Linked DNA regions of Homo sapiens: region 2 is linked to region 1. The links are contacts of gene promoters, found by promoter capture Hi-C in blood cells and fetal thymus (Javierre and others, 2016). All regions are on one chromosome and are shown on one strand. The core of a region is centred on a gene start or on the middle of the fragment in contact, and the rest is flanking DNA. Distances in the headings are between cores, read along the strand shown. Region 1 holds the start of RFC4 (replication factor C subunit 4). Region 2 overlaps ST6GAL1 (ST6 beta-galactoside alpha-2,6-sialyltransferase 1).

Region 1 (7,083 bases), core at 3,194-5,693:
AAAAAAATTAAAGTGAACACCTGCTTAGAAAGCATTATTATTGGCCGGATGCGGTGGCTCACGCCTGTAATCCCAGCACTTTGGGAGGCAGATCACCTGAGATCAGGAGTTTGAGACCAGCCTGGTCAACATGGTGAAACCCCGTCTGTATTAAAAATACAAAAAAAATTAGGTGGGCGTGGTGGCACATGCCTGTAGTCCCATTTGAACCCAGGAGGCAGAAGTTGCAGTGAGCCAAGATCGCACCACTGCACTTCAGCCTGGGCGACAGAGCAAGACTCTGTCTCAAAAGAAAAAAAAAAAGCATTGTTCCACTTTGACAAAATAAGATCATGAATCTTAAGATGAAAAGGGAAAACCATTTAGTAACCTTAGTATAGGTAACTATTTTGGTTAATGTAGTTACATATATACTTAGTATGTGTTAACTGGTTAATGCCAATTTTTTCCATCATCTAACTGCATAAAAAAATGAAGACCTATTCAATTCATTGAGGGCTAACAAAAACAACAAGCTGAACCAATATGAAGTATCATATATAATTTTCATCTTACAACAGTGATTTTTAAGAGAAGCTAGAACAAAGTTACACTTCCAACTCTAAGCTTAGGCTTTGTGCTTAGTTAACTAATCAAAAGTTCTTTGATCCATACTTTTCGATAAATCAGGTTAACACTAGGTAGGAATTATGATTTTTTTTTTTAATGTCTTCTCTTGGGAATCCAGTATATGTTATAAAGCAGGGACTCATATTCAAATACCTGCAGAGATTAAGCAGATAACAAGAGTGAGGAAGGCAGAGTGTGATGCAAGATATAGTAGGGACCATGGCAAATTGAGGAACACACGACCTTTCCAAAAGGAGAAGCAGTACACAAGTCCATATAACTCCTGTCATGTGAGAACCTGCCCCCAGTGTTGCCTGATCTCCTGAGAAGCTGAAAATCCAGACCCTCCTCCACATAATTAAAAAAATCTAGATTTTCATGAGGTTTATTGGTGCCAAACAAAACATATAAGGGGCTGGGCGCAGTGACTCACGCCTGTAATCCCAGCACTTTGGGAGGCCAAGGCAGGCAGATCACCTGAGATCAGGAGTTGAAGACCAGCCTGGTCAACACGATGAAACCTTGTCTCTATTAAAAATACAAAAATTAGCTGAGTGTGGTGGGGCATGTCTGTAATCCCAGCTACTCGGGAGGCTGAGGCAGGAGAATCACTTGAACCTGGGAGGCAGAGGTTGCAGTGAGCTGACATTGCGCCACTGCACTCCAGCCTGGGTGACAAAGTGAGAATCTGTCCCAAAAAAACAAACAAACAAAAAGGCAAGCAAAAAACAAAAACACAAAAAACATATGAGGGCCTTACTCGGCCTATAAGTAATCTGTAAACATTGGTAATTACCGAGGCTACATTCAACCAATAGTTACAATTACTTGTGGTAATATCACTTAGATGACTGACAATTTTATTTATTTATTTGAGACAGAGTCTCGTTCTGTCACCCAGGCTGGAATGCAGTGGTGTGATCTCAGCTCACTGCAATTTCTGCCTCCCAGGTTCAAGTGATTCTCGTGCCTCAGCCTCCCAAGTAGCTGGGATTACAGGTGCCCGCCAACATGCCTGGCTAATTTTTTTTTTTTTTTTTTCCCAGTAAAGAGGGGGTTTCGACATGTTGGCCAGGCTGGTCTGGAACTCCTGGCCTCAAGTGATCCTCCCACCTTGGCCTCCCAAATTGCTGGGATTACATACAGGATTATAGGCATGAGCCACCATGCCAGGTGGTGACTGACAATTTAAATGCTAATTCAAGTGTTGTTTGGACAAAAATGTATGAGCTAACCAAAACTGAATTTCCAGGGCTGGGCGCGGTGGCTCATGCATGTAATCCCAGCACTTTGGGAAGCCAAGGCAGGTGGATCACTTGAGGTCAGGAGTTTGCGATCGACCTGACCAACATGGTGAAACCCCGTCTCTACTAAAAATACAAAAAATTAGCCAGGTGTGGTGGTGGGCACCTGTAATCCCTACTATTTGGGAGGCTGAGGCAGGATAATCACCTGAACCCAGGAGGTGGAGGTTGCAGTGAGTCGAGACCATGCCACTGCACGCCAGCCTGGGCAACAGAGTGAGACTCCGTCTCAAAAATAGTAATAATAATAATAATACTTTCCACCTATTGTAATGAGAAGAAGGAGGAACAGATTACATATTTGGATTTAAGTAGAACTCCTGACCTAGTATTTATAGCCAGTTTACAGAAACTTTTGTTTTCTTCACTTCTGTATCCCAGCCCCTAAAATGGAAGCCTCTGCTTGTAGAGATCTCAGTTTATCTACAAAATAAGGGAGTTAAACTAGATTATTCTCAGGTAACTTTAGTTCCAGGGTTCTATGACTTATATAAGTGGGTGATTTTTTTTCAAAGACAACTTCTAAACAGAACAAAGCATTCCTCCATAAGTTAAAAAAAAAAAAAAGTGATCAGTACTGGTTAGAGAGATAATTTATGAATTATTTTAACAAAGACACAAGTGTTCTTACTATTTTTCCACCCAGGGAACGGGTTTGGCTTTCTTGTTCTCTCCGCTACTTCCCGCACTGGCAGCTACTCCTCGATCCTTGGTCAGCGGGGGTTTAGTACTGATGGATGTACCTTTAAGAAATGCTTGCATGGTACTTCACCCTGGTCAGGTGCAAGACAGAAAAAAAAAGCTTTTATTGAAACTTTTATTGCGAATCAGCACCATAGGAAAGCGGGGGTGGTGGTGGGGAACCATTATGAGAAAGTACAGCCCGAAAATAAACTTAGCCTTGTGCAAAGATGTTACATAATAAAGGACATCACCCCATGACCTAGGACACTCTGAATGCACTGTACTGAGGGCTACAAGAACAGAAAAGTGGTCAAAGTCCCTAACGAACTTAGAATCTATTTCTAGTGCAGGAGTTATAGAACAAAGATCATATGTCACAAAAATGTTTAATGAGTTCCAAATGCATTGATAAATATGATGTTGCTAATGACCAAACCACATGGGCCTCCATGGTTTCTTTCACAGTCATGGGCCTAGCTCTAGCTCAGACCCTGAAATGGACTCTTCGGCAATTAAAGGTGCTCTGCTTGCACCACAAATGAGAACCTTCACTCCTTTCCTTGGGTCAGAACTCAAAGACCTTTTTTTGTTGTTGTTGTTTTTGAGACAGGGTCTCACTCTTTTGCCTAGGATGGAGTGCAGTGGCGGAATCATGGTTCACTGCAGCCTTGACATCCCAGGCTCCTGTCATCTTCCCACTTCAGCCTCCCCAGTAGCTAGGACTACAGGTGCGTGCCACCACCCCCGGCTAATTTTTTAAATTTTTGGTAGAGACAGGGTTTCACCATGTTGCCTAGGCTGGTCTGGAACTCCTGGGCTCAAGTAATCCTCCTGCCCCGGCCTCCCAAAGTGCTGGGATTACAGGTGTGAGCCATCTCGCCTGGCCAGGGACCTATTTTCATGGCAGAGTCAATGCTTACCTACCTTCAGAGACTTTCTGTGGGGAAGGGAAGGTGGGGGACTCTGTTGTTAAAATAGAAACAGCTGTTTTTCTCATAACACACTCACTTGAAGAAATCAAAACAATGCATAAAAGCATGAGAGATTTAAAAAAGTAATACAAAATCCCACCCAGAAGGTAACTATTTCTAACATGCAGGTAAACATTCTTCCAGGCTGTTTTCAGGGATAAAAAGCATCATTAGCTCGCCTGAAAAGTCCCCGGTTAATTCTATTTTTTTCACTGCTACATGCCCTGGTGCCTAGAACAGTGCCTGGTACATGGTAGATGCTCCGTAATATTTGGTGAATGAATTACCATCTATGATACCCGGTTTCCTTTTCTGTTAAAGGAGCTAAGGCCTATTCCACAGGACAACTGAGTTAAATAAAAGAATGTATGCAAATACATAGTTCCTTGCTTGGCATATGGGGATATGCTCAATAAAATAAATTTTTAATATCTGTTAGCAGCCAAGGTTTTTATAACGTTACTGGATTAGTCCATCCCTGCCTCGGGCTGTTAAACATTAATACAGCCCAAAGCCGGGGCCTGCAAGATGCTGTCCGGAACCACCATTTCACCAAAGGGCGCGGCCAGGGCATGAAAGGGCCACTAGGCTGGGGCCCCGAAGGAGGTGGAAGACCTCACAAGGGGCATCAAGGGCAGGAGTGGGGAAGGCGAAGCGGGCTTGCAGTTCCTCCAGCAGGTTACCAGTTAGCCTGGCTTCTCGTGCAGGTCACCGCCGCCGGCTCGTTCCTCAGGTTTCCGCGATACAAAAAGGACGAGATGGTCTCGAAGTCTTAGCTCCGTCACCTAATCTGAGAATAACGGGCCCAGGAGACTTACGATCACTGATGTCCCCACAGTCGCCTCAGTTCCCGCCACGGAACGGCGGGCGAAAAGCAGGGCGGGAATACGCCGGTAGGAATACGCGGGCACGTAACGCGTCACTTCCGGTGCTGGGGCGCGCTGCTTGCGGAGGGAGTTTGCCCGTATACGGTTTTATTTAGGCAGGTGATGAGCCAGCCGGACTTTCAGGCAGAACTGGACTGGAACAGGCATGGCCTAGGAGGTGTCCCTGTCCCGGTGCATTGCTCCCACTTCAGACGTGAGCGCGACCCTCCCGGAAGGAGTAGAGGTCGCGCGGGCACGGCGCTGGGGCTGCTTACCTGGCAGGCTCAGCAATGAGGGCGGGGCGGCGGCGCGCGGGCCTCTGGAACCCTGCCGGTCCACCGAAGGTCCCGAGCCCGCTATCTTCGTAGGTGCGGGCCTCCGGAGGTGCAGGTCCCTGTCCTCCTTGTCCTGCTTCGTCGCAGAGCAGAACGCGTGTGCTTTAAGGGCAGAGACATCTGAAGATGCTTTGCCTTGCCCTCTTGAGGACACGTGGCTTTTACTTCTAATAGTGTCTGCGTGTTGTGGAGAGAGAAGACCATGCAGCTGTGGACATCTATTATAATTCCTGAGCCCCACTTAGAAATCTGGAAGTGAAGGCGTTCAATAAAAGTTAAAGGACTGATAATCATGTTTAGCCCCACCAAGCTTCATGCACAGTGGGCTAGGCTGGTGCCTGAGCCCACTGCTTTTATCTCTTCCAAGTACTTGGTTTAGCTCTGAAATGCTCCTTAATCCTATTGAAACCTGACCCTTCTCAAAGGCCACCTTCTCTACTGGTCTTTACTAATTACTAACCCATAAGGTTGTTCCGGGTCTTCTTCAAATGACTGTTTTGTTTGGCACAAACTCAGCATGATATCCATTGTTAACTTTGTACGTTTTTTTCATTTATCTTGCAACAAATGCTTACAGAATGTCCACGCACTGTGTTAGATGCCTGCAGATACAGCAGGGAAAACGCTCGAGATGCCCTCAAGTAGCTTTACAGACTAGGAGAGTGACAGACAATGTGATGTGTGGTTATGCAGAGGAAGTAGGGGGCTGTGAGAACTTACATCCCAGGCCTAACCCAATCAAGGGTTTAACCAAAGTAAGGATGCTTTATGCTACTTTGTAATTTCCACAGAGTCTGATACAATCTCTGGACAGTATAAAAAACACACAGGTTATCTATCTGGTCACCGGTTTACATTACCATAACTTATCAAACTGTATACTTAATGCTTGTATATTTTATTGTATGTAAATTATACCACAATACAGTTGATAAAACAAGATCTATGAAAATAGATGGTATCCATTTGCTACCTGAAGGAACAGCACAACCACAGAGAGGGGGATGTTATGATCTCATTTAACAGACAAGTTGGGCTGGGCACGGTGGCTCATGCCTGTAATCACAGCACTTTGGGAGGCCGAGGTGGGCGGATCACCTGAGGTCGGGAGTTCAAGACCAGCCTGGCCAACATGGTTAAACTCCATCTCTACAAAAATACAAAAATTAGCCAGGTATGATGGCAGGTGCCTGTAATCCCACCTACTTGGGAGGCTGAGGCAGGAGAATCGCTTGAACACGGTAGGTGGAGGTTGCAGTGAGCTGAGATCACGCCATTGCATTCCAGCCTGGTGACAGAGCGAGACTCCGTCTCAAAAACAAACAAACAAAAAAACAGACAAGCTGATGGATAAGTGGTCTTTGTCCATTTTGGCTGCTATGTTTATAAGCCATAGATTGGGTGGCTTATAAACATCATAAATTTATTTCTCACAGTTTTAGTGGCTGGGAAGTCCAAGATCAAGGCACCATAAGATTCAGTGGCTGGTGAGGGTTCACTCCCTCATTGACAGCTGTCTTACTGCTGTAACCTCACTTGGTGGAAAGGGCTAACTAGTTTTCTCCAGCCATCTCCTTTATGAAGGCATTTCTCCCATTCATGAGGGTTCCACTCTATTGAACCAGTCACCTCCCAAAGGCCCCACCTCCTGATACCATCACCTTGGGAGTTATAATTTCAATAACTATAATTTGGGGGTGTGGGGACAAACATTCAGACTACAACAAAGGTTAATAGCAAGTAAGTGGCAAAGCCATAATCCACATCTTGGACTGACTCCAGACTCAAAGCTTGTGATCAGTCACTGGGCAGGTTCAGGGCTGGCATAGAGGTGCCTTAATGTTAAATAGAAAAGAGAGACCTGAGTGGTATCTTGTTTTGGCAATTGATTTTAAAAAAATGCCACCTTTCTGCAGGTACATTCAGCCCTTGGTGGGATGAAAAACTTGGTGATAAGAGATTGGGCTGGATTTCTATCTCCACTTGCCCCTCAGCTGACTACTCCGTTATTGTACACAATTATAGGCAGCATCCTAATCCAGGTAGTTGAAGAACTTGTGTGCACACCAAGCATTGTCTCTCTCACCAGAACAAGAAATGTCCTTATATAAATACTTATCTTTTTTTGTGTCATACATATGTGGGTGTTCACATGATTAAACCAGTTTAACAAGTTTATAATAGCTTTTATTATTTATTGTAATGGGCATTCATTCAGTTACTACTATGATACTATTATGTGGAGATTTGTAAAGTTTTTTTGTTTTGTTTTATTTCTGTTTTTTCTTTTTTGAGACGGAGTCTCACTCTGTCA
Region 2 (7,083 bases), core at 2,038-4,537, 260 kb after region 1:
TGTCTGCCTCTGCCTGTTTGCGAATGACTCCACCTTCCCAAATCCCAACAGGGAAGGTGAGTCAGCTTGAGACCACTTGAGAGGCATCTAGCAGAAGGGAGGCAAAACTTCTGTTAAAGGATAATTTTTAGGGAAAAAAAGGTAAGATGATGACTCTCATACAGATATTAAAAATGAATTCATCATGAAGATTTTATTTTACTCGTATGATGGAACCAGGCAGATATTACAACTGGTTCAAAGGAAAAGTCAAAGCAACACAAATTTGGAGTAAAGGAGTTGAACTAGTTTTTCTGTGAGATAAGGCAGGGGGAGGGGAGAAATCAATTGAAACTCTCCTGGGCAGCATCCTGCCCAGTAGGCACATGTATTAGTTGCCTACAATTCACAAAGGGTTGCGAAATAGCTCCCGTGGAATCAGAATCTGACAGGGAGGAAGAGTGTGCTCAGAAAATGCATGGCTTTCTACTGAAGCAGATTTTTTTCCCATTACACTTCTAGATCTCTGTGCACCATTGTGCCAGGGCTGCGAGGAAGGTGGCCCACTTCCCGGGATACACTACCCACCCTCAAGAGAGCCTTTCCTGCTGCTTCTTAGGCAAGTCAGCTCTCTTTTCTCACCTCCTGTAAGCAACACTAAGTATCTGGCTGTTCCTTTCGTACTCGAGTCCTGGCCGCTCCATGACAGCACTTGTGGTGGTACTGAACTGTGATGGACACTTTCTATCATTGCCCTTTCTTACCTTGATATCCTAAAAAGCTGGTGGTCTGTCTTCTCTATCTTTTGTCCTGGTCAGTTATCCTAACTATTTTGTGTCTGTTTCTGTGGATTAGTAAACGGGGTCCCCACCCCCACTCCACAAGGAGAACATCTGGCACCCAGAAGTCACTGAGAGAATAGCTGTTGCTTTGGTAGAATTCTGCCTCTGAGTGGCTTGTTCTTTTCCCAGACGGAGAGGTCTCCTGACAGCAGCTCTCTTCTTTTTCTTTTTTTTTTTTTTTGAGACAGAGTTTTGCTCTTGCGCTCAGGCTGGAGTGCAGTGGTGCACTCTCGGCTCCCTGCTCTGCCTCCTGGGTTCAAGTGATTCCCCTGCCTCGGTCTCCCAAGTAGCTGAGATTACAGGCATGCACCACCATGCCCAGCTAATTTTTTGTATTTTTAGTAGAGACAGGGTTTTGCCATGTTTGCCAGACTAGTCTCAAACTCCTGACCTCAGGTGATCCACCTGCCTCAGCCTCCCAAAGTGCTGGGATTACAGGCATGAGCCACTGCGCCTGGCTTTAGCAGCTCTCTTCTAAAGCCATCTGGACCCACATTTGTTCAGCTCCCCTCCCTTGGCCATGATGAAGGCATGCAAAACAAAAAAGGCACTTTTCTTATTGAGAAGGTGGCTTTTTATAGAGAATGGTGTCATACTGTTAGGTTTCAGGCCAGCAGACCTAGTCAGGCATGTGACACTTCTGTGCCAGGTGTGGCTATGAGAGTCAACAGGAAAAATGATATATGTAAATGGACAGGTCTTTAAATAAATGCAGTTTTGACTATAAGAGTAAGAAGGTTTCTGTGAGACTCAACTCAGTACCTCCTGTACCCTGTGGGCCTGAGAGAGGAGACAATGGGACAAGAAGACCCAGTGGCTTCCTTGGAAGCTTTTGTGCTAGCTGGAGAGAGAAGACCTACTTCCTATATGCCTAGCAACAGTCCACACTGACTGGACTGCAACCAGGACATTTCCAGATTACTCAGTGGGGCTTATCTTGAAATAATAGTTGATGCCATTTGTTAAATATATTATATATACCATCTAAGGGTCTTACATGCCTTCTCTCATTTGATCTTCATGGCAAACCCTGTGAGGTATGACCACCAACCACCATTTTACCTCAGAACTCAGGCTCCCAGAGTTTAAGTTGCTCACAGGAGCCCAGAAAGTAAGCGACAGAGGTGGGATTTGGTTCTAGGTGTTTGCCACCAGCACTTTAAATCACCAAAGCTTTCTGGAAGCTCCAACTTTTCTTCTCAAGATACTGAAAGACAGGTATCTGGATGGGTTGGCAGGGCGGGTGGGAGGTGGGCGAGATTTCCATCAACAACGGGTCTAAAACCAGCGATGGTGAGCTGGGTGATTTTGATGGAACCCCTGCCATACAGTCTATTAATATCATAATTGGAGCTAAAATTTAATCATGATGGCAATCATGAGTTCTGGGGCTTCTTGATTTGGGCCAGCAGACACAGTCTCAGTCACTAGTTCTCCGAATCAGAGAAAGGATGCCTTCAGGCTGTGTCTTCACATGGCTTTTCCTCTGTGCGTGGTGGAAAGAGAGAGCTCTGCGGGTCTCTTCTTGTTGTAAGGACACTGGCCCCATTGGATTAGGGCCCCACCACATGACACATTTAATCCTAATTACCTCCCTCACAGCCCTATTTCCAAACAGGGTATTAGTCACATTAGGGATTAGGGCTTCAACATAGGAATTCTGGGGGCACACAATTCAGTCTATAACAGAGGGAAAACAGATTTGAGAAGAAAAAAGTCCAAAATATGCACAGTGGTAATATCTGAAGATGTGCGTGCGTGCGTGTGTGTGTGTGTGTGTGTGTGTGTGTGTTTCTATTCTTGCATTTTCTAACTGTCCCCAGTGAGTATTTGTTACTTTCTAACTGAGAAGGTTACTTTAAACAGTGTCTTGAGCAGCAGCACTCCATGCCCTGGTGTAGCCTTTTCCTGGCAGATGTTCCCCAGGGCTCTGCTGCTCTGCCAATGACTTATTCTCAGCATGAACTCCTCCCCTGCCCCCTAAGAGGATCTCCAAACCCAGGTCACACTCCCCCTGCAGGTAAGTACAGGCGTTTGAGAACAGCTTTATTCTTCCAGGAACAGCTGGTCCCCTCAGCAGGGCCTTACAAGGTGGTTATGTCTAAATAAGGCACCTGAGGCCAGGAGATGTGACATGGTCCATCTAATACCATGGAGTGAGTTAGACACAGAGCAGGACTGGAACCCATGCTTCCAATTCCCCATCCAGTTTTAAGGCAATCTTCTTTTCTTTCTTTCTTTCTTTTTTTTTTTTTTTTTTTTTTTTTTGGAGACAGAGTCTCTGTCACCCAGGCTGGAGTGCAGTGGTGCGATCTTGGCTCACTGCAACCTCTGCCTCCGGGGTTCAAGCGATTCTCCTGCCTCAGCCTTCTGAGTAGCTGAGATTTCAGGTGCCCGCCACCACGCCTGGCTAATTTTTGTATTTTTAGTAGAGACGAGGTTTTACTATGTTGGCCAGGGTGATCTCGAACTCCTGACCTCAAGTGATCTGCCCACCTCAGCTTCCCAAAGTGCTGGGATTACAGGTGTGAGCCACTGCACCTGGCAAGGCAACCTTTTTTTTTTTTTTTTTTTTTGGTAGAAAATCTTTGAACTTCATATAGATGGTGTTAATGTGGGTGAGTTCAGAGCCATGTGTAAAGTTCCAGGAGGGGAGTGCTTGCTGGCTTCTCCCTTATCCCTCAACCAGATCCCAGCCCCAGCCACTTTCTGTTTCTCTTCTCTGGATAAAACTATCATTCATCTTCACCTGTTTCTATTTTCATGGATTACTGTCTCATTCATCTCAAGTAGCTCAAGTGAATGGCTGTTTTTCCATTGGATACAGGAAGACTGAGGGTGACCTGACCCTCATGGTGTGCTTGCTTATTTGAATGTCTGATGGTTTTATGGGTGTAGTCCTGCTGGAGCAGAAAGAATATCTGTTAGGAGCCTGCCTCTGGGCTCTGGTTCTAACTGTGCCACAAACTCATCGTAGCCTTAGACAATTCTCTTGTCTCTCTGGGCCTCAGTTTACCCATCTGGAAAATGATGGGTCTGAATTTAATACCTTGAGTATCATCCAGCTGTGACATACTACAACTCAGGCAAGAAGCAAATTCTCCTGACACTCCATACTCCTATCCAGTGTTCTCTGACGTCCTTCCCCAAGAGCTGTGGTACCCTACCCTGCCCACATTATGTGAGGCATTATAGCACATAGGTTAGAAGTGTGGTCTCTGGGCCGGGTGTGGTGGCTCATGCCTGTAATCCCAACACTTTGGGAGGCCGAGGCAGGTGGATCACGAGGTCAGGAGATCAAGACCATCCTGGCTAACACAGTGAAACCCCATCTCTACTAAAAATACAAAAAATTAGCTGGGTGTGGTGGCACATGTCTGTCGTACCAGCTACTTGGGAGGCTGAGGCAGGAGAATCACTTGAACCTGGGTGGCGGAGGTTGCAGTGAGCCAAGATCGTGCCACTGCACTCCAGCCTGGGCAACAGAGCGAGACTCCATCTCAAAAAAAAAAAAAAAAAAGAAGTGTGGTCTCTGGAGCTAGACCTAAGAATCCAATTCAGACTCTCTTACTTACTGACTGTGTAATTTGGACAAGTTACTTAGCATTTAGCATCTCTATTTCTTTAATCATAAAATGAACATATTAACACTTACTTCCTAGGGCTGTTGTGAAGATAAACTGAGTTGAGGTATGACAGTACCTAGCATGTAGTAAGCATCATTAAATGGTGTCTGTTGTTTTCACATATTGTAAAGAAGAAAGCTTCGTGCATCTCTTGGAATTTCTGAGGACGGTGAAGCCACAGCTGGGAAAGTCTCAGGGAGCCAGGAGTTGCTGGCCTCCTGCTTTGCATACTCAAAATTGCTGGAAAGGGGCTATAGCAGGGGGAGACATTTTTTAAAAATCCCAGTTATTGCTATTCCTCATGAGTATGTATATATCACCTGGCATCAGTACTCTGCATAGAAAGAAGCATAGCTAAAGAAAAGACACTTTGCTTTTAATATAACAGCTGTTTTCAGGGGAATAGGGTGGATGAGGATAGGGAGTACTGGCCCTCTGTCCTCAGGCCTCCCTGTCACCAGCTCAGTCACGTCTATCTTACAAATCCCCATCTAGCAGGAAGCCTGCTCTGCCCTTGGACTATAGACCTGAAGGGCTGTTGTTAAGTTACAACGTTCCCAGTGGAAGGAGGACAGTACTTAAAAGTTACAAGATGTGGGTTCTGTTCTTAGTTCTTATGGCCTGTCAGCCAGGGAACTCCTGGCCAGTAGTCTCATCCTTGAACTTCTTCTTTTTTTTTTTTTTTCTCAAGACGGAGTCTCGCTCTGTCGCCAGGCTAGAGTGCAGTGGCACGATCTTGGCTCACTGCAACCTCTGCCTCCTGAGTTCAAGCTATTCGCCTGCCTCAGCCTTCCAAGTAGCTGGGATTACAGGTGCTTGCCACCACGCCTGGCTAATTTTTGTATTTTTGGTAGAGACAGGGTTTCGCCATGTTGGCCAGGCTGGTCTTGAACTCCTGACCTCAAGTGAGCCCAGCCCTCATCCTTGAACTTCAAATTTCCACCCCACCTTACTCCCACAGGCATATACCAGTTGTTCCTTTTTCTCTGTTCTTATGCAGGAAATGGCCTGAGGTCCAGGAGTCCCCTTGGTCCCCTTTTTCCCTCACTCTCAACATTCAATTAGTCTTCACATCTACAGCCGACAATTGTAACTTCTTTTCTTTACTCCATTATTTCTTAGGTGACAACAGGAGCTTCTTTGTGGTCTTCTTTTTTCTAAAAACACTAATTCAGAACTCTAGCATGTTTAGATCTTCCTTACTTAAAACCCTTTCCTGGTCCCCATAACCTACTGAAGAAATCCTAAGCTCCCTGGCTTGGCCTCTGTCTACATTTCTCTGATCTCTTCCAGCTCTTTCTCTGTATCCTAGCCATACTGAACTACTTGCAATTCCCAAACAGGGTACACACTGTACTAGTTGTTCCTGCAAGAGACAGGAACACACATCCCCCCACACTAGCTTAACAAAACAAAAAATGCATTTCTCTCTCATGCAAAAGAAGTCCAAAAGTAGACATTCCAAACTTAATATGGTGTTCCAGTGTCAGAATCCAAGTTCTTTCTACTTTGTGGGTTTGCCGTTCTCAGCATATGACTTCCACTTTATGGTCCAAAATGACTGCTCAAGCTCCAGCCATCACATCCACATTTCAGCCAGGAGGAAGAAGGAACAAGGAAAGGCATAACCTTGCCTCTAAGGATAGTTCCTGGAAGCCACACTTGCTTACATTCCATTGGCCAGAATTAGTCACCCAGCCATATTTATCTATAAGAGAGGCTATGAAATTTTTTTATTTCAGGGAGTCTATTTTAGGTTGCCATGTGCAAAAGTAAAAACCAGAGGTGTTGGTGGTCAAGGAAGAAATAGCGAATGGATGCTGGGTAACATCTGGCAGTCTCTGCCACACACTCACACATTCAGGGGTTTGCACGTGGTTCCCCGTGTCTCAGACACCCCCTCTCTCATGCTTACAGTCTCTGCTTGGCATCTTCTTTTTTGCCCCCTAACACTTGCTCTTTTTTTTTTTTTTTTTTTTCGAGATGGAGTCTCACTGTTGCCAGGCTGGAGTGCAGTGGTGCAATCTTGGCTCACGGCAACCTCCGCCTCCTGGGTTCAAGTGATTCTCCTGCCTCAGCCTCCCGAGTAGCTGGGACTACAGGCACCCGCCACCATGCCCGGCTAATGTTTGTATTTTCAGTAGAGACGGGGTTTCACCATGTTGGCCAGGATGGTCTCAATCTCTTGACCTTGTGATCCACCCGCCTCGGCCTCCCAAAGTGCTGGGATTACAGGTGTGAGCCACCGCACCCGGCCCAACACTCGCTCACTTTATGGCCATCCTCATACTACCTCTGTTGTTGCACCATCACAGCGTGTTAACCATTGTTCAATTGTCCACCTTTCCCACTACCCTGTGACCTCCTGGAGGGCAGGGACTGTGTCTTTCCTTTGGCTCCTTAGCACCCAGTATAGCTGCACAATCTCCAGCCAAGGTAGACCGACCACCAATATTTCTTGTCTCAAAGATATATTGAGGAAATGAGAGTATATTCTTCAGGCTTCCAGGAACTTCCTTACATCTGTAGGAAGGTATGGGCATGGGGATAGCTCAGTGATTGTAGAGGCTCGTGGCAGATTGCTTGCTATTCTTTGGGTTGCACACAGGCCGTCTCTCTTGCCATAGTTTTTTCCA

The links. Contacts are between HindIII fragments. The CHiCAGO score rates a contact against its expected background, and 5 or more counts as called.
Region 2: a fragment that was not itself captured here is called in contact with the fragment with the promoter of RFC4 in region 1 in 4 of 17 cell types (activated CD4 T cells, total CD4 T cells, naive CD8 T cells and 1 more); the score reaches 6.0 in activated CD4 T cells.

The regions. Positions count from the first base shown.
Region 1 is chr3:186,802,039-186,809,121 of GRCh38, forward strand. RFC4 (replication factor C subunit 4) reads right to left here and starts at 4,444. Exons shown (of 11, transcript NM_002916.5): 1 at 4,252-4,444; 2 at 2,545-2,686. The coding sequence starts at 2,675. RefSeq lists enhancers at 4,000-4,611, 4,612-5,223. The HindIII fragment of the contact is 2,364 bases long and covers 2,714-5,077 here.
Region 2 is chr3:187,064,019-187,071,101 of GRCh38, forward strand. All of the region lies in intron 5 of ST6GAL1 (ST6 beta-galactoside alpha-2,6-sialyltransferase 1), which reads left to right. Among named protein-coding and RNA genes, the nearest start is that of RPL39L, 72 kb to the right of the region's middle. RefSeq lists an enhancer at 1,616-1,795 and a silencer at 2,743-2,792. The HindIII fragment of the contact is 2,591 bases long and covers 1,993-4,583 here.